Linked DNA regions of Homo sapiens: regions 2, 3 and 4 are each linked to region 1. Evidence: promoter capture Hi-C in human tissues and cell types (Jung and others, 2019). All regions are on one chromosome and are shown on one strand. The core of a region is centred on a gene start or on the middle of the fragment in contact, and the rest is flanking DNA. Distances in the headings are between cores, read along the strand shown.

The links. Contacts are between HindIII fragments. The study calls those that stand out against the background at their distance.
Region 2: a fragment that was not itself captured here is called in contact with the fragment with the promoter of ASTN2 in region 1 in 3 of the 25 tissues and cell types used here (H1 embryonic stem cells, mesenchymal stem cells and neural progenitor cells).
Region 3: a contact is called between a fragment that was not itself captured here and the fragment with the promoter of ASTN2 in region 1, in 2 of the 25 tissues and cell types used here (H1 embryonic stem cells and lymphoblastoid cells).
Region 4: a contact is called between a fragment that was not itself captured here and the fragment with the promoter of ASTN2 in region 1, in 2 of the 25 tissues and cell types used here (dorsolateral prefrontal cortex and mesenchymal stem cells).

The regions. Positions count from the first base shown.
Region 1 is chr9:117,412,369-117,417,480 of GRCh38, forward strand. It overlaps ASTN2 (astrotactin 2), which reads right to left and starts at 2,689. Exons shown (of 23, transcript NM_001365068.1): 1 at 2,129-2,689. The coding sequence starts at 2,570. The HindIII fragment of the contact is 9,596 bases long and covers 1-5,112 here.
Region 2 is chr9:116,784,212-116,789,063 of GRCh38, forward strand. The region is part of intron 13 of ASTN2 (astrotactin 2); the gene reads right to left. Among named protein-coding and RNA genes, the nearest start is that of TRIM32, 99 kb to the left of the region's middle. The HindIII fragment of the contact is 6,664 bases long and covers 1-4,852 here.
Region 3 is chr9:116,893,288-116,898,425 of GRCh38, forward strand. The region is part of intron 10 of ASTN2 (astrotactin 2); the gene reads right to left. Among named protein-coding and RNA genes, the nearest start is that of TRIM32, 210 kb to the left of the region's middle. The HindIII fragment of the contact is 3,508 bases long and covers 1,176-4,683 here.
Region 4 is chr9:116,803,199-116,808,248 of GRCh38, forward strand. ASTN2 (astrotactin 2) reads right to left here. Exons shown (of 23, transcript NM_001365068.1): 13 at 2,434-2,622. Among named protein-coding and RNA genes, the nearest start is that of TRIM32, 120 kb to the left of the region's middle. The HindIII fragment of the contact is 5,964 bases long and covers 1-4,264 here.

The sequences.
Region 1 (5,112 bases), core at 1,439-3,938:
GGGAAGTCTCCATGTGCAGGTTGTTGCCAGGAGACTCTCAAGCAACACATGGGTCCTGGGGGAATCAAGACTTCTAATTCCTCGCTCAGGTCCTCACTCAGCTTGTCCCAGGCTCACAGGCACCCATCCTGTTTGAAAGCCAAAGTTAAAAATGGCAAAGATTGTCAGTTCCAGGAATCCCGGGGCACCTATACAGATGGTTGGAGCAGGTCCTCCATATCCTCGAAGACTTGAAATGCTCTGTGGTCCTCACTGCCAAGTCAGGCCATACCCAAGGACCGTCTCATCCCTTCACTTGAATGGCCGTTTGGGGGGCGGGAGGATTTCCACCCCTCATCTCTCAGAGTACCCCGGAGTAGAGAGATCTAAAGGATGAAGGGAGAAGGTCAGGAATGGAAGTGGTAGTGAAGGGATACCTTCTGTGTCTCTAGAAAGACCCTTCCCCACGGGGAGGTGGCAAGAGCCAGCTGTGAGCCTGAGGTTAGTCCGGCGGCGCTCTAAGGAACACCACCTCCACCCTCCTTCCCTTTCTCGGACATGGGCAGCCCCACAGGTGCACGTGGGAAGAGCTACTGGTTTGTGTGTGTCTGTGTGTGTGTGCTTGGTGCGTCGCACCCCAGAAGCGCCGCCGCGGGGAGTCCCCGAGGAACCTGCAGGACGCTCCGCTGCCTCTCCTCCCGGAACGCTCGGCACGCTCAGGTTACAGCCTGCGAGGGTGGGTACAGGGGCTCGACCCCCGAGGTTCAAGCTCAGAGCGGGAGAACCACTGGCACTCGCTCAAATCCCCAGAGGTGGTAGCATGAAAGGATGGGGAGTGGGTCACAAAAATACTTTTAACAATATCAGGGCTACCAGGAGAGTGGAGCGTAGTCCGCTGATTATTCTGTGGGTCTTTTCAGGCGAGCAAGGAGTTAACCTCGGAAGTTCAGGGATCGTAAAGGTTCTCACCTGGAAGGCCCCTCACCTGCGGTGCCCGAGGCGGATCCCGCCGAGGAAAAGACCCGGGGAAGAAGAGCTCCGGGTCTGGGCGAGCCCCTGGCGCCTCACGGGCGCTGTTGTTGGCCAGACTCCGACAACCAATAAGGCCCCGCGCCCCCAAGAGGGGAGGGGAGAGCGAGCAAGCAGCGAGCGCGGGAGAGCTAAGGGGAACAACATTTTTGTAAACGCTCTCCGAGATAATTAAGCTATCAATTACCCGGGTGGGAAATCAGCTGCGCTTCCCACAGCTCCACTGAAGGGCCGACTCCTCCGGGATTCGCGCAGGGAACCAGCAGGCAGCAAGCTGCTGGCGAACTTTTCTGATTAACTTTTCCGTTGGAGCCCCCCACCCACACCCATCTCCTCTCCTCTCCTTTTTCTTGCCTTTAAGTAATTATTATTAGCCCAGGGAGTGAGCTGCAAGGACAAACCGGCTCTCTGCCTGGAGGTGGGTAGAAAGGGAAGGCGGTAACGGGGGTAGAGGGAGGCTCTAAACGTGGAGACCTCGGAGTCGGAATCCCAGTTCTCAGCAACCACTCAAGTCTCTCCAGCCCTATTTCACAGATGGCCAGAACTGAGGCTCAGAGAAGGGAAGCGACTTGGCCAAGGTCACTCAGCCCATGCGGAAGCCACGCTTTTGCGGGTTGAGCGATTCCACACGGAACTACTCCATTCCTACTCTCATGAAAATCCATCTGGAAGGGCAGAACCCGCAACTCCGAGGCGAGAGCGAGGGGGCGGTGACGGCGGGTGGCCAGTGACGGTACCCGGAGAAGTGGGAGGCTCGACCTGAAACTGGCTTAGGATCTGGGATGCTCCGGCCCCTAGCCAGAGCACCTTCAGTGAATGGGGTCTCCGGCTTCCGGGATGGATCAAGCAGAGCTCCAGGTCGGGACTGAGAGGCAGAGGGGCAGGTTCCCACTGCGGGAGGGTTGGCACGCCCCCAGGCTCCCGCCGCGCGCTCTCCAGGACCTCCTCCCACATGCTCGTTTCCAACCACCTGTGCGACCTCTGGGCCCCTCCTCTACCCTCTGCCAACCCCACTCGGGGCAGCCCCGGGCAGGGATCCCCAGGGCGCCCCCACCCGTCCGGCATGACGCAGGGGCTCGGGGTTCCTTGGGATCTAGCGCGTGCCGGCGCCCAGCCTTACCCAGGGTGAAGAAGGGCAGCTCGGTGTTGTCCAGGTCGTCCTGCACCGCGATGCGCCCCGGCAGCTCGTTACGCACAAAGAGCAGGAGGCGCGACTCGGCGGCGGTGCCGGCAGAGCCAGGAGAGCCCGGGGACGCGGCGGCGGCGGCGGCTCCGGCCCCGGTCCCAGCCCCGGCCCCGGCGCGGGCGCCGCTCCAGCCGATGTCGCTCTCCCGCAGGGCGGGCAGTGTGGACACCGTGACGGTCTTCAGCCGGCACGGGCTGTCGGGCTCCCGCGAGGCAGCGGCGGTGGCGCCGGCCAGCAGCGGCGGCGGCGGCAGCAGGAGCAGGAACAGCAGCAGCAGCGGCAGCAGTGGCGGCGGCCCCGGGTGGAAGCAGAGCCTCGGCCGCCCCCGGAGCCCCGAGCCGGGGCCGGGGCTGAGCCGGGCGCCGGCGGCGGCCATGGCGGGAGGGGCTGCGGTGCTGCGGGCGGCGGCGGCGGTGGCGGCGGTGGCGAAGGAGGAAGAGGAGGCAGCTGCGGAGACGGCGGACGCCGAAGCGAACCAGGACGCCCGAGCTAAGGAGCGGAGAGAGCCGCTCGCCAGCAGCCCCCAGCTCCGGGCTCCGCCTCCCGATCGGCCCTGGACCGCCCCCCCGCGCCGCCTCCCGGGGCCCAGCCGCCCGTCCCCGATCTCCGGCTCCCCCCGCAGACCCCGAGCGTTTCGGAGGCTCCGCCCGGCCTCGTGCAAGTCCCAGTGGCTCCCTCCCCTTTCCCAAGATCCCCCAATTCCGCCCTCACAGCATTCTTTAGCCACAACACCCCTCCCTAAACTCCCCAAATTCCTAATACTTAGGGCCCCCTCGGGCCCCCCCAAGCCCCCCTGACTCAACCCAGTTCTCCTGGCTTCACCCCACCTTCGGCTCAACCCAGAGGCTGCACCTGGGGGCGCGCCTTGGCCCAGCCTTGCTCAAGGCCCCGCCTTCTTGGGGATAGGGAGCCCCCTGGATAGCCAAGACTTAACTTTGTCTCCCCTCAGGCCCAAGAACAAGTCCTTTCTCCAATCTCCTACCCTTTTCTAGTCTCTGAAATAACTTCCTGTAGCCTCAGAGCCCCCTTCCCACCCACTTGGCCACAACTCCTGCATTCATTCTCCCACTGCCCGCAAACCTTCCTCTCCCCTCCATCCAGGCCTTGTGCTAGCACTAATTGCTAATGGACAGAGGGGCGTCGAACTCCACCGTCTAACGCCGACCCCACAACTGACTGAAGCCGGGCTGTTCTGGCCCCCTAGCTGCCGCCCTGCAAGCCAGCCCACTCACGCTTTTTTATTTTGGATCCCTGCTCCCAGCTTGGAGCAGCTCTACTTGGCTGCTTCTGCTCTCTGTGTGAAATTCCTGAAAAGGGTGTGAGGTAGAGACCTACTATTCTGTCTGTCCTTGGCTCCCGGGTCTTTTAGATCCTCTGCCCAAGTCCCAGAGAACGGGAGTGCTCACCAATTCTTCACCTGCAGTCTTTCTAGACTCAAGTTGAGCTAGGTCCTCAGATTCAGCACCCTTTGGTCTTGGGCTGACTCTGTCTCTGACCCACATACCTGAGACCCTCCAGGGAGCGGACACCTCTGCATGGGTCAAGTGCCGTGCAGCCCCTTCCCCACTCCCCTACTTTTCTTCATCTTCCCTGTCTCTGTTTTCTGTTTCATCTCTCCATTCATTTCCTTCCTTCTCATCTTGACTTTAATCTTACAAATGCTTCTTTCCTATAATTTGTGAGCAACTTCTCATCTCTGTCTAGCTTACCCATCTGCACCTTTTGTGCTGTCTCTATGCATTCACTTTTCTCTTAGCTCTTCCCTCTTCTGTCTCATTCCCCTTTTCTATCTTTAACCCTTCATATAAATTGCTTTTCTCCTCTCTCATCATATATTTTTTAATAACGTTGGATAAAGGCAGAGCACTGAAAATAAGGAAAAAAGCAAAAGCTGTTTTGCGACCTTGGACTTAATGTGTTTAAAGCATTCTCCAAATGCTAGACATGTACGTATGTTAGCTTTTTTACATGACCATAATCCAAAAAGATGGATATTATGATTCCCATTTTCCATGTGAGGAAACTGAGATCAGGTGGTCAGGGAGGTGAAGGGATTTTCCAAGGTCGTATAGCAAATGAGCTGAAGAGCTGAGGTTTGAACAGTAGGCTTCAAGCCTTGACTGTTTCCCTTAAATTACACTGTCCTCAGTGACCTTGGAAAACCCCACCCATCAAAGATGCTGTAAAAGGTAAATCTGCATAAGCACAGTTGGATCTACTTCCCTGTGAGGTTTGTAAGGTATACTTCTCCTGTCTCAGTTTACTAATCTGTGAACCCAAAGGATGTGTGGAGGTTGGGGTGGAATCTGGCCTTTCAAGTCCTCTAATTCTAAATGGTCTCCTGCCTCTCTGATGCCTGCTCTAGTTCATTTACTCCTCCAAAATATGTCACCCTGCCTCCCTCAGTCTCTCCTTTGTGTCCTTACAATCCGCCACTATCCACCGCAATGGGGCTTTCTGATTCTCTATGCCCCTTTCTTCAAATATGCTGACATAGTCCATTTACAGAAGAGCACACCAGGAAAAAAGGGCTCCCTTATGTAAGGCAGAGTCTGTGCAAGTCCTTCATGGACCTCTAGTACAAAGGCCTGTCAAATGAGACCAACACTTTCATTCATTCATTCATTCATCACCAAATATTCAGGGTGCCTACCAGGTGCTATATGGAGATGCAGGGATGGATAAACACAACTCCTGCCTTTGGAAAGCTTATAATGATTGGGGTGAGGGGGTGGGATGCCGGAAAGAGACAGGCACATAAATATCTCAGGTAATGGGCAGGCAGGCAGACATGTGTTTCCTAAGATGAGGTACTTGGAGAAATCAAAGAAAGCTTCCCAGAGGCGGTGGCTTTGGAATTGAACCATAAAGATTAGTAACAAGGGAGTGGGCATTCTAGGTTAAAGTTGGCATTTGGC
Region 2 (4,852 bases), core at 966-3,465, 630 kb before region 1:
TCCTGAACAATTCAATCATAACACCCCTAATGAAACAGAGCAAATCCTTCACCACTACTTTTCATGCTCTTTAAACCTCAAAGTTTTTACATGCAGAACAGATATAACACTGGCTCTTCTCTGTAAGCTTGTTGTGGCAATTAAAGAAAAGACAGCACTTGAAGCACCTTGCAGAGTGCCTGGTCCACAGACATGTTCAGTAAATAGCAAATATTGTCATCATTAATATTATTAGACAGTATTGAATTATTGACTAAGGTCATGTGGTGCTCCATCACACACGCAATGTCCTGTGTTGTTAGTTAACTTTAACATGGGCATGTTTTCATGGCATTCTCCCATTCCCCTATTGTCCCCACCTTTGAGTCCCTCAGCCTAGCACTGTGATATGAATGGAGCAGAATGTGTGACCAACCAAGTGTTAAAAGAGGAGAGAGGCTGTGTTGGGGGGCTCATGCCTGTAATCCCAGCACTTTGGGAAGTTGAGGTGGGTGAATCACCTGAAGTTGGGAGTTCGAGACCAGCCTGACCAACATGGAGAAACCCTGTCTCTACTGAAAATACAAAAGTAGACAGGCGTGGTGCCGCATGCCTGTGATCCCAGTTACTCGGGAGGCTGAAGCAGGAGAATCACTTGAACCAGGGAGGTGGAGGTTGCGGTGAGCTGAGATTGCACCATTGCACTCCAGCCTGGGCAACAAGAGTGAAACTCCGCCTCAAAAAAAAAAAAAAAAAAAAATAAGAGGAGCAAGAAATGGATATTTGAATATGGATTTGGAGCCAGACTGTCTGGATTCCAATCCTGTCTCCATCCTTTACCAGCCAAATGACAATGAGAAAATTATTCAGTCTCTTAACAATTCAGTGTCATCATCTGTTAAAAAATAAGGGAGGGGAAAAGGTTGACAGCTCCTCTAGGTGTCTGTAGAACTGAATGCGTTTGGACAGTGAAGCTGCTGCCTGGGTCTCTTCTTGTGTCACTGGGAGCTCATCCTCAGTCTCCTTTGCTGGTGGCTCTTCACCTCTCCGATGTTAAACTGCAGGACTCAGGGCTCAGGCTCCTCTCTTCTCTATCTACTCCCTAGTGAGTTTGTGTCCTCTCATTTCTTTTCTGTCATCTACATGCTAAATAATCTGAAATGTACATTTCAAGTCATGTTTCTCTTCTGAACTGGTATATCCTACTGGCTTCCTGACATCACCATAAGAATATATATTAGACATGGCCAGATGATGGCTATTGACGCCGGATGATGAGTGCCTGGGGTTCCATCACACTATGGTCTACTTGTATAAATGATTGCAATGTTTCACAATCAAGTTCATCTTTTAACATTATCAAAAACAAATTTCTCTTTCTATTCCCCTCCCTTGTGCCTGCTCCTCCTGTGGGCTTTCCTGTCTCCATCAATGGCACATCCGTCTGTCCAACTGCTCAGGCAAAATTCAGGGCACTAACCTTGCCTCCCTCCTTTCTCTCCCTCATCAGTAAATCTAGTTGTCCCACCTTCAGAATACATACAGAATCTGCCCACCTCTCTCCATGCTGACTTGTCTGAACATGCTCCAATCCACAGTCGTCTGACATCTGGACCACAGAAGTAGCCTGGGAACTGCTTTCCCTGATTTCACCCTGCCCACTAACGTCTATTCTTCACACCCCAGTCAGATTATAGACCTTTTCTGCTCAAATAATGCACTAGCTTGGTTTCCTTCTCACTCAGAGTAAAATTCAAGCTACTGCATTTAGGAGTCCCACAGGACCCTATACAAAATGGCCCATACTTCCCCAGTTGGTACCCATTGCCTCTTTATTTGTAACCTTTTTTCCTACTACTTGCCCCGCCTCCTTCCCCTCTGTTCTATCCACCGAGGCTCCTTTTGGTCCACAGAAAATGCCAAGGGTCTTTGAACTCGGTGTGCCTTCTACCTGGAAGCTGTTCCCCAGATATGTGCATAGTTCACTGCCTTGTTTCAGATCTTTATACAAACGTCACCTTGTCAAGTAAGTCTTCCAGCCTGTAAAACATAGAATCCCCTGCCTAAAACCCTCTAGTACCCTTAACTCAACCTGCTTTTCTCCACAGTGTATGTACCTGACAGGGTGTATATTTATTTGTTGATTGTCCCCTACACTAGAATATAAACCTTCAGAGCAGGGGTTTTTATATATTTTGTTCACTATTGTCTTCCTGGTTTCCTAGAACAGTCAGTGTCATAGAATAAGTGCTCAAAAAATATTTTTGATAGAGTGAAGATACAATAGTGTCTGGTGCAGTGTGTCATTGTTATCTGGTTACTCTTATTACTACAATCACTACTGTTACTTGTTACTCTTGTTACTACAATCACTACTACCTAAATACTGGAGAGATACCCAAGAAACTAATAAAAATGGGGGATAGGGGAAAAGGATAGAAAAAAAACTGAGAAAGGAGTGACATTCCTCATTGAATGTCTTTTATACTGTTTGTGTTTTTAAACTTTGTAACTTTAATGCCTGTAAAGAAATCAGTTTAAAAATATGCTGATATGGTTTGGCTGTGTCCCCACTGAAATCTCATCTTGAATTGTGGTTCCCATTATCTCCATGGGTCCTGGGAGAGACCAGGTGAAGATAATTGAGTCATGGGTCCTGGGAGAGACCAGGTGAAGATAATTGAGTCATGGGGGCCATTTCCCCCATCCTGTTCTCATAATAGTCAGTCAGTTCTAAAGAGAGCTGGTGGTTTTAAAAGGGGCTTCCCCTTTCACTGGACACTCATTCTCTTTCCTGCTGCCCTGTGAAGACGTAGCTTCCGCCATGACTGTAAGTTTCTTAAGGCCTCCCCAGCCATGGGGAACTGTGAGTCCATTAAACCTCTTTCCTTTACAAAATACCCAGTCTTGGGTATGTCCTTACAGTAGCATGAGAATGAACTAATACATATGCCTACCAAACTGTCGCAGCCAAGCGGAGCTAAGGAGATGGACAACTCAGTGTGAGATGGTGACCAAGATGCTCTTAAGCTTCCCATCAGCTTGACTAAACACCAGGCAGGCTTCTCCAGTCTCTAGATCCCTGACCTGCCTTTTCTTAAAGCATTTACTTTAGAAACTTGCAATTGTAAATTCTTTCTCTGCCCCTTTAAGACATAAATCTTTTATAAAGTTTCTTGCCAGTTTTACAATCTAGGACTGTCTTTCTCAAGGACGTGGGAGCTATTTCTTTGAAATGTAATCATCAAGGAAGACAGTACCCCTATCTCTTAGTCTTTGTGGAAGGGTGGAAGCCCAACTTCCATGGACACCAATTAGCAAACACAGATGGCCTAATCACAGAGAAATACATTTGCAAAGTCAAGAATAACTCAATGTGCTGGACATATCCTATTGTTCAATCTCCTAATGTCCTCCAGTACTTTTCCACTTACTCCAGCAATTAAAAACCCTCCTGTCCTTTTCAGTTTCAGTGAAATTGAGTTCAGACCTCTCTCCTTCCTCTATTGCAATAGCCTTGAATAAAGTCTTTCTTGCCTGTTTAACATCATCCAGTGTCATTTTGCTTTGATGTCTGTATGCTGAATGGGCTCCTGTATCAGAAAAAGGACATCAGATAAAAACTAAGGAAATCTGAATAAAGTATGAACTTTAGGTAATAATAATGTATCAATATTGATTTATTAATTATAACAAATGTACCATAAAAATATAAGAGGATGCTATGGGAAACTGATTGCAGGGTATATGGAAACTCTCTGTACTATCTTTGTGGTTTATCTATAAATCTAAAACTGTTTAAAATAAAAAAATATATTTTTAAAATCCTATCTGAACCTGGAGGACATCATGCTAAGTGAAATAAGCCAAACACAGAAAGACAAATACTGCATGTTCTCACTTGTATGTGGAATCTAAAAAGTCAAACTCGTATTAGAGAGTAGAATGGTGGTTATCAGAGGCAGGGGGTGGGAAGAAGATGAGGAATTGCGGGGAGATGAAGAATAGGGAGAGATTGGTCAAAGGGTACAATGTTTCGATTAGACAGGAGGAGCAAGTTTTAGTCCATTGCTCAGTGTGGTGACCATCGTTAATAATGGATTATATATTTCAAAAATTTGCTTTGAAAAGTTTTTTAATATTCTCATCACAAAAAGTATGTGAGATGATGAACATGTTTATTAGCTTGATTTAATCATTCCACAGTGAGCACATATGTCAAAACATCACATTCTATCTCATAAATATATAGAAGTAGTATTTGTACATTAAAATATATATTAAAAATAACCCTATCTGAGTGGAATACGGAAAAGAACATCCAAGTGTCAGAAAGATCCAGTAAGTAAGGCTCTGACACCAGCTATGTGATGACAGTCAAGTCATCAGATCTCTTTGAGACCCAGTTACCTCATTTATAAAATGACACTTGCAAATCCACTAACATCATGCATTCTCAGTAGTCGCAGAAATTGTCTTAGACAATACAATGGCTTGTGGTCCTCCAATGTCTAACTCTACCCAATAAAACTGTGACCCTTAGTATTTAATTTCTCTCATTAAGAAGAATTCAATCCTATTTTTTTTCTATGACAAGGGGTGACAGTAAAAAACAAGTTTGAACACAGCCTTAGATAATACAAAAAATAAAAAAGTATATTACTTTCCCTTTACACCAACATTAGACCGAGTTTTGTTCAGCCTGAATCCCCAGAACCTGTCACATAATAAGCTCTTGATGTGTACTGATTGGCTGGAGCACAAAGCTGAAGCAAATTTAATTGCAATTTAGCTTAATTCTCAAGCTGTGTTTCCACCTTCTTTGCAAATACAGCTGCAAAATGCCTATATGGTCTCTGGGCTTGTTTATTCC
Region 3 (5,138 bases), core at 1,680-4,179, 520 kb before region 1:
CACATTATTTTCATGGCTATTTTGAAGTTGCCCAATTAAATGATCCAATCCCCTATTAGAGAACATTTGGTTGTTGGAAGTTTTTCTCCATTATAATTAGTGCCCTGATGGGAAGCTCAGCAGGACTGCAGGTGCCTAAGATTCTGCCCACTCTAAAGCAGGAGAGATCTAGGAGTAATTCTGGCTATACCCTCTTACTAGCTAGGTGACTTTGCACAGGTCACTGACTCTTCCAGCCTCAGTCCCCCAGTTGTAAACCGAGATGCTAGTAGAACCTGGCTCTACTTGGTATTGTTTGAACTCAATACGATGATGTGTCAGGGTTCCTGGTAGGTGCCTGCATGGAGTGAGCACTCACCAAGACATGCAGTTATTATTAGTATCATTCCCTACCTCAACACCTCTCCCTCCCTCTCTCCTCTCTTCCCTCCTCACCTTAGTAATTATTTCCCTTTATGCAACAGGCCAAATCTATCCATTTCCAAGCCACCATACTTCCTGCTTCTTAGGTCCATAATTGCTTTCTCTATCCCAAGCCCACTGCCAGGTTAACTCCTGCTGATTTAGGGATACCAAGAGAGATCAGCCTTTGAAGCTTTTCTGAACACTCAACGTCTGCCCCCAGGCCCACGCTTGGTCAGAACCCTGCTTGAGCATCCACATTTTTCCCATTAGCACACTGACTACCTCGCCACACAATGGCCTGGGTGTTTGCTTTTCACTTCATTTGAGTGAGCATCTGCAGAAAAGCAATGACTAGCCTTCCCTACTTCCATTCTAGGACTGACTGAGAGCCTTCTTAGTGTCCTGCCCTGCACAAGCACAGGTTAGAGGGAGAATCCACTACCAAAAAAATCCCAGACATTTACTTGCCAGTTCCTAGATCAAAAACATGTGGGCCTCCTTTCTGCCCCTGAACCCAGAGTTTAGTTGGGCATTATTCTTGTTCTTCAAAGGAAGTGGTAGGTAGGGACAGGGTGGATGGTAATTGATATTTCATGGTGACTGAAAGACTTGTAAGTACCTATTTAAAAAAAAGTCAATGACTCCATTACAATTTAAAAGAAAAGGAGAAAAATAGCCAAATGACAGTTATCACATAAAGATAGGAGCCAGTACCCCACTATGAGTTTGACCAGCATGATTTGTAATTCTGAGAAAATCCTGATGATAGATAAAATATTACCATTGTTCTAATTTTATTTGTTTATTTAGTTATTGAGACAGGGTCTCACTCTATCACCCAGGCTGGAGTACAGTTGCATAAACATGGCTCACTGCAACTTTGACCTCCCAGGCTCAAGCGATCCTCCTGCCTCAACCTCCCAAGTTGCTGGGACTACGGGTGGGTGCCACCATGCCTGGGCTGGCCTCCTGGGATCCTGGGCTCAAGTGATTCTTCTGCCTTGGCCTCCTAAAGTGCTATGATTACAGACGAGAGCCACCGATGCCCAGCCTATTCTCATGTTGTAGGTCAGTAAAGAAGTTCAGAGAGGGTAGGTTATTTGCGCAATGTCTCATTTAATCAGGGGAGGAGATGGGATTAGAATTCAAGGTCTTCCTGACACCCAAACCTCTGCAAACAGTATGAATTTAAGGCTCCACAATAGATACTATGATGTAGAAGCAACTGATTTTCCAAAAGGTTCTTGGGTTATTTATTTATTGCAAAGGCATTTTACCTCCCTGCACATTTATGTAAGTGGTCCCATGAGTTGGTAGAATTCTCTGAAAACCAATACATTCTGAAAGCAAGCTTAATACATTTATTTGTACAGATTGAGCATCCCTAATCCAATAATCTGAAATTTGAAATGCTCCAAAATTGGAAACTTTTTGAGTGCGACATGACACCTCAGGTGGAAAATTCCATACCTTTTCTTTCTGCCGGTTCAATGTACACACACTTTATTTAATGCACAGGATTGTTAAAACTATTGTATACAATTCCCTTCAGGCTATATGCATAAGGTGTATATGAAACATATGAATTTCATGTTTAGACTTGGGTCCCATCTCCAGGATATTTCTTTATGTCTATGCAAATATTCCAAAATCTGAAAAAGTCAGAAATCTGAAACACTTCTCTAGTCCCAAGCATTTCAGATAAGGGGATACTCAACTTGTACTTAGTAAGCACCAGGGGTCAAGTCTTTGCTAGGAGACCAAAGGGATGCTCTGTATCTATTCATAAGAGGGTGGAAGTGGAAGCGGTCATGGTTTTGGCACAGGGGCAAAGGATGTGAGTTAGAACTGGATCCTGGAAGGCTTTCTGAAAGGAGTTTGGTAGTAGTATCCTATCAAGGTCTTAGTAATCTGGGCATAGTTTCTGCAGAATCAAATTCTCCTATATTCAACAGGACAGCAAATGAAGACTGTATTGATTTTCTGCTTAGATCAATAAATAAGATAAATTGACCAGAAGGGCTAAATACTGATCAGGGTGAACTGAACATCAACATTTACTAAGAGCAGAGGGAGGAGAAACATAAATATCAGAAAAATGGAGATGCCAATAGAGCACTGGGGCAGTGGCTCAGTTTCCAGTTAAAATGTGTGTGTAAGGATTATTATTTTAGTCATGTCTTTACATAAAAAAAGGGAGTGGAATTAGGTTATTACAATAAAACTTCATTTAGTCAGACTGTGAGAAGACCAATTGATTTTTAAAAAACAATAAATGCCATTGAATTTAAATGCATGGATATGATATGGCAAGACAAACAAATAAACAAATAGTCAGAAGACCTGAGTCATTAAGTGTCCTTGTTAAGTGCAGAAAATCACATATTATTCATAAGTGTATTCTATTTGCCAAGCACAGAACCTGGAATATAGATGAAATCTTGGATTGAGTTCTATGAGAGCTGACCCAGAGCTAAGGAATGTGGTAATAGTAGTTGATTTGGGAGGTGATTCCAGGAAGCAAGTGAGGGACTGAGAATTGAGCCAAGGAATGGAGGAAAGCAAACAAGGGTGTATGTATTAGTTCATTTTCATACTACTATAAAGAAATACCTGAGGCTAGGTAATTTATTTTTTAAATTTTTATTTTGATTTTTTTATGAGATGGAGTTTCCCTCTTGTTGCCCAGGCTGGAGTGCAATGGCATTATCTTGGCCTACTCCGCCTCCCAGGTTCAAGCAATCCTCCTGCCTCAGCCTCCAGAGTAGCTGGGATTACAGGTGCCTGGCTAATTTTATGTGTTTTTAGTAGAGACAGGGTTTCACCATGTTGGCCAGGATGGTCTCAAACTCTTGACCTCAGGTGATCCGCCTGCCTCAGCCTCCCAAAGTGCTGGGATTACAGGCATGAGCTGCCGTGCCCCTCCTAGACTGGGTAATTTATTAAAAAAGAGGTTTAATTGACTCACAGTTCCACATGGCTGGGGAGGTCTTGGGAAACTTACAATCATGGCAGAAGGGGAAGCAGGGACGTCTCACATGGTGGCAGGTAAGAGAAGAGGGCAGGGAAAACTGCCATTTATAAGACCATTAGATCTCATGAGAACTCACTCATTTACCATCATGAGAACAGCATGGGGACACCATCCCAGTGATCCAATCACCTTCCTCCCTTGACACATGTGGATTACAATTCGAGATGAGATTTGCGTGGGGACACAGAGCCAAACCATATCAGTGTGTTAATGAGGGGGCTACCAGGTGGGCAACAAGAACTCGATCTCGTTATGGTCTCTCTGAGAGACTGGGTAAGATACAACCCTGAATCTTTCTGTGAAGGGGCAAGAAATGTGGCATATTTTTCTACCAACCTCCTGTTCATCTTTTGCTGTGGATTGTGCCTAAGGCCATCATCACTGCCCACCTGCTCCCAAAAAAATAACCTCAGGCAGACAGATTTAGGTGCAGCGCACTGAAGGTGCAGGTGACAGCTGTCAAGGACCAAATGTAGATGGGAAGGACACATGGCAAGTGGTAATACCAGGCGAAGGACTGCAAGATCAAGCTCTGTGCTCTGTGACGATTGTCAAGTCAATCTCCTCTCTGGGCAATCAGGGTCTAACTCTAAAAAGCGAGGCTTGAATCTTCACATTCCCTCCCAGACTGAGTGCCAGTAATTCTGAAAACCAGATGGTCAAACTCACAATCAAGGATTACAGGCCATTTAGGAAACTGCTTCTCACACAGATAAAAATGATACATGATGAGCATTCCACTTGTTAGCGTTTAACTGTGAGCTTTTCAAGTGCTTGAACATACACACAAAGATGTACATGCACTAAGTGATCACTGAGGCATTGTTTGTAGTAGCAAAAAACTGAAAACAACCTAAATACTCTTCAGTTAGGACATCGCTGAATAAAACTGGCATATTCATATGCCGGAATGTTCTCCTGCACTTAAAAGGAACGAACTGAATCTATATGTGTCACCATGAACAGAGTTCAAAAAATATTGCTGAGAGTAAAAAAAAAAATCAAGATGCAGAATGTTATATATAGTCTGACACCATTTAAAAAAAACAAGCACACATTACAGCATTCCTATGGGTAGGTTACATATCTGGAAAAGTATTTTTAAAGGACTGAAGTGACAACACAAACTCATTTAAAGTTATTTTGGAAATAACTTTTCCAAAAATCACATTTATATGAGTGGCTACTTTTGGGCAGGGAGAGCTGGGACAAAGACTAGATTAGCAATGACAAATGTGGATGGGGTAGTCAGAGTGATTTTAGTTATAGTGATATTGTTCTAATTTATGAAAGCAGAATTGATTCATGCATTTTTAAGTGAACTTAAAAAAAGAGAGAAATGTCTAGTACGTAGCCTAGTATCACAGGAGACTACACGATAATGTGGAAGGAGTTTGAAGCTGGATGCATTGGCTCGTGTCTGTAATCCCAGCACTTTGGGAGGCCAAGGTGGAAGGATCGCTTGAGTGCAGAAGTTTGAGACCACCCTGGGCAACATAGTGAGACCCTATCTCTACAAAAAATAGAAAAAATAGCGCCAAGCATGGTGGTGTATGCTTGTGGTCTCAGCTACTCGGGTGGCTAAGATGGGAGGATCACTTTAGCCTTGGAGGTCAACAGCTGCAGTGAGCTATGATCACACCACTGCACTCCAGCCTGGGTGACAGAACAAGACCCTGTCTCAAAAAAAAAAAAAAGA
Region 4 (5,050 bases), core at 33-2,532, 610 kb before region 1:
ACACTTTCATAGACCATTAAAATTATAGAAAACTAGTATTGTAGAATCTCAGCATTGAACTGCAATTCATCCAGACTATCCTTAAATTTTTCCCAGAGCTTTTCCTGATTTTTGTTCTTTTTTTTTTTTTAAATAGAGACAAGTGTTCACTCTGTTGCCCAGACTGGATTGCAGTGGCATGATCATAGCTCACTGTAACCTTGAATGGCCAGGCTCAAGTGATGGTCCTGCTTCAGCCTCCCAAGTAGCTGGGACTACAGACATGTACCACCAAGTTCGAATAATATATATATATATATATATATATATATATATATATATATATTTTTTTTTTTTTTTTTTTTTAGACGGAGTCTCACTCTGTCATCCAGGCTGGAGTGCAGTGGCGTAATCTCAGCTCACTGCAAGCTCCGCCTCCTGGGTTCATGCTATTCTCCTGCCTCAGCCTCCTGAGTAGCTGGGACTACAGGCGCCTGCCACTACGCCTGGCTATTTTTTTGTATTTTTAGTAGCGATGGGGTTTCATTGTGTTAGCCAGGATGGTCTCAATCTCCTTACCTCATGATCCGCCTGCCTCAGCCTCCCAAAGTGCTGGGATTACAGGTGTGAGCCACCACACCCAGCCCAGTTTAAAAAAAAAAAAAGTTAGCAGAGATGGAGTCTTGCAAAGTTACCTAGGCTGTTCTCAAACTCCTGGGCTCAAGTGATCCTCCCACCTAGGCCTCCCACAAGTGTTGGAATTACAGGTGTGAGCCACCATGCCTGGCTCGGAGCTTTTCCAGTAAAGTAGCATTCAGTCTCTGCTTGAGCAACTGAGTCATGGATCCACCTGCCAACGATACCTAAAGTGTCAGAGGGGCCATTTCTATCTCCTTTTCCATCTTATGCCCAATAACCAGCATGGTATATGAGAAAGAGGAGATTCTCAAAGAGTATATGATGATTACAAGGATGAACGGTTTTAGTGAATTCACATCTCCATTCTCATTCTGTAAAATGGGAGTAAGAGGGTATGCTGAATTGAAATACAAGAGCAAGGTTTTAGAGTCAGCTGGAGTTACATCTGATTCCTGACTCTACCTCTTACTAGATGATGATCTTGAGAAAGTCACTCAACCTCTCTGGATTAATTTCTCAATTGTAAAATGGAGGTCATAGTGCCTCCAGTGATTCTAATAATGAAGCTAAAATGAAATTATCTTGGCTCTCCTACTTCCTAGAAGGGAGTCTTTGGAAAGCTACTCTAGATTTCTCTTTCTCTTCTGTATAAAAAGGATGATAATGACTCCTGCCTCACAGGATCATTGTGAGGATTACATAAGTTAATAGACAAAAAATACTTAGAAAACCCTTTCGTGTATGCTGAATTAATGTTAGTGGACATTATTATTGTTAGTAGTTAGTAGTAAAGAACTTGACACAGAATAATTATTAATAAATGGTAACCATTTATTACCACTCATAATACAATTATCACTACTATTAGTAAGATGATGGAATGGAAACAATGATTATTATAATGGTGACTTATTACTAGTTCTGACTTTTATTGATATGACCTCAAATGATTAGGAGAGCCTTGCTTTGTGATAATATCTTTTTTTTTATGCAAACATGGTTAAAAGTATAATGTGTGTGTGTACGTGTGTGTGTGTGTGAGTGTGTGTTTAGATAATCCTTCTCCATACATACAACAAATCTCACTCTACTAGCTTATGGTTCTTCAAGCTTTGAGGCATAAGTAAGTCACCACTTAAAGTTTCTCTTCTTTAGGCAGAACAGTTTCAACTGTCCAAAAACCCTTTACCAATATCTTGCATCTTTAATCCTCACATAATCTGGCCAACCTAGCCGTCACTCACTATTGAGTGAAAAAAGCAATTTCTAAACAGCTTTACTGGGATTTGGGGAGTGTGTGTGTGTGTGTGTGTGTGTGTGTGTGTGTAGGCAGACAGGAAAAAACAGAGAGAGAAAGAGAGAAGTAGAAATTTTAAGAGCATTCAGGAAAATGTTAATTCTAGGTATTTCTGGGTGATGCGATTTTTATTTTCTACTACATTAAATGTCCTTATTTTTGAACTGCCTGAACAGCATGCATAAAATACTTATTTTTCAGTAGACTGAAAGATTAATTAATGTTTTTCAAAATGCCATTAACTGTACTTATATGATAATTTAAGATTGAATTTAAAATGTGGGGCTAGAACTAGGAAAATGGCAAAGTGGGACAAATATATGCTAGGACCATGAAAAAGAAACCTTATGGAATAAAGTTTGATGACTTTCCACACTCCTTAAGAGGGTACCTGTGAGCTTAAAGTGATGCTGGCCAGAATAACAGGTCTCTACCCCATTGTGCCCATGGCTTCCTCCCTGTGCCCAGGTTGTTTGTCAGTGACTCAGACAAGCAATGTGCAAGTATCTACAGCATACCTAAAGGTCATCTGGAAGACTTGGCCTTGGTTCACATGCTGGGTCCGGTTGTTGTAACCATGTAGCATCTCTCCAAAGAGGGTATCATTGAATTTGGAGTCAGGTTTGAGGCACTTGGGGCCCTCGCAGACATCTGAGAGCATTAAGCAGGATTTTCCATCAGGAGCCAGTTTGTACTCCTCCACGCAACTGTATGATAAAACAGAGCTCAGAATTAGCTTCACATCCTGAATGCCCCCATTGGGGGTGACCTAAAACCAAGGCCTCCTTTCCCTGCAAAACAGGTCAGAGTTTAGGAAGGAGACAGCTATTCTACCTGGAATCTATCTAGGGCACAGATGTCTAGAGAGAAGCACATTAATACTGCAAATTGGTAAATTCAAGGAAAGTCATTTGTGACATTTTGGAGGAGTCAAGGGGACACCAGCGTGCACGTTCACACACAAAGCAAATTTAAAGACTGTTTCCCATGAACATACAGACTTTAAAAAGCATGACATACCAATTCACAGGGAATCATCAACTAGTGTCTCAAACCAGAATCTATTCCCAGTACATCTGTCAACCAAGGTTGAAGACTGTAGCAAATACAAGGTTTTTATCATCCTGGTAGCTCAGAGGTGAAACCTTCCAGGACCATGGACAGCACAAGGCTTCTGTTCACTTAGGGATTTTAGCAGCCTCCGTTGGTCTAACAGCCAGAAAAGCCCTTGACAAGCCTTTGAGACAGGGGTGGCCTCATCTATGGACAAAACAGGCATCTGAATAAGGTGTGGAAACAATATTTGCAATTTGAAAAGATTTGCAGTGACAAATCTCAGAGAGGCATGGGCTGGAGGGGATGGGGATGGTTGGGGCAAGAAATCAGAGATCTCAGCCCCTGAAAAATCATTCCAGAAACTGGAATTCTATGAGTGTCTACCTTTTCAAAGTTCAGCGCTAAGCACTAGGAGTATGGTGCACATAAATAAGACAGACAAGAGAATGGTCTGTGAGATTGGACAGACCTGTACAAATGCCATTTTTCTCCTTGTGACCTATATGAACATGAGTGAGTCATTTAACTTCTATGATCCCCAGTTTCCTCATGTGTAAAATAGAGTAGACACTTCTACCTTAATTCAGTAGGATGCTATAAGGTCACATGATACATTGGCCACAAAAAAAACAGGAATTGCAATATACTTAACACAATAATCATAATAGTGGTAGTAATGGTGTTATTTCTATTTATTGAGCATGTACTATTCACTGAACACTTTATGTATTTATTATCTAACCATGAAGAAAGAAAGAGTAATATCATAATTTCTGCTTTACACATAAGCAAAATAAGGAGCCAAGAAATAAAGCATATAGTACTGTGAGTAAGTAGCAAAGTTGATATTCAAATTCAGTTCTGTTAGAAAAAGGGATGTTTGTCTATTTTTGTCTCCTCCAAATCTAGTGCTTTCTATGTGCACAAAATGACCCTGGTTGGTATGTCAGTTTGAGAAAGTAAACAGCAGGCAATCTCTTATTTGCCTTTTTTCAAAGGGTGTAGCAAAGATTCATTGAAGCTAACCGCAAAGGGACTCAGGAACTCAGATGGGAGAAGGAAGAGGCTCTGTATGGTGGTTTGGAAAGAAAATGTACACAGGTTGTGGGAACCAGTAGCTGATGCTACAGATATAGAGCTGAACTGGAGGCAGAAAGAAGACAAGCATAGCTGGAAACCTGACCCAAGATCACTCTAGTGAAAAGCCAGGAAGTCTCATGCATGAAGCAAACTGTCACTGTTTCCTTGCTTTCCCCTAATCCCTGGCGTACTGCACTGATGCACTGATGGTCTTTCTAACGTTCAAATGTTCCTTTCCATAGTACAGTGGGGAAATCTCTTGGAAAAGGGCCCTGTCTCAGAGCCTTGGTAAAGTATATCCCCTTCTTTTTGCATCTGTTAAATATTACTAAGTCCCTTTTAATACAGTTGCAGTGCAGATGAAATGAGTGTATATGGAAGTGAATCGTACATGGTGAGTGTTTCATAAAGTCTAGTTCCATCCATTTATTGAGAAAATATGGAGAAATGGTTTACTGGGTACACTGGCTAGAGTTCTCTCTCTCTCTTTATTTCTCTCACCCTCCACACATACCCACATCCCTGTGTGACTGTGAATAAATATATTATTGTTGAAGATGAGTAAACATTATCAAAGTCTGGCAGGGCGCAGTGGCTCACGCCTGTAATCCCAACACTTTAGGAGGATGAGGTGGGTGGATCATGAGGTCAGGCGTTCAAGACCAGCCCAGCCAACATAGTGAAATCCTGTCTCTACTAAAAAAAAAAAAAAAAATTAGCCAGGTGTGGTGGCAGCCACCTGTAATCCCAGCTACTCAGGAGGCGGAGGCAGGAGAATCACTTGAACCTGGGAAGTGGGGGTTGTAGTTAGCCGAGATCATGCCACTGCACTCCAGCCCAGGCAACAGTGTGAGACTTCGTCTCAAAAACAAAACAAAACAAAACAAGACAAAAAAACCATTATCAAAGTCTATAGAGTAAAATATGGAACTTCTTCATTTCCCACTCCTCACTTTCTGTCCCAGAGGTCACCATTGTTAATTTTTATGTGCTCTTCCA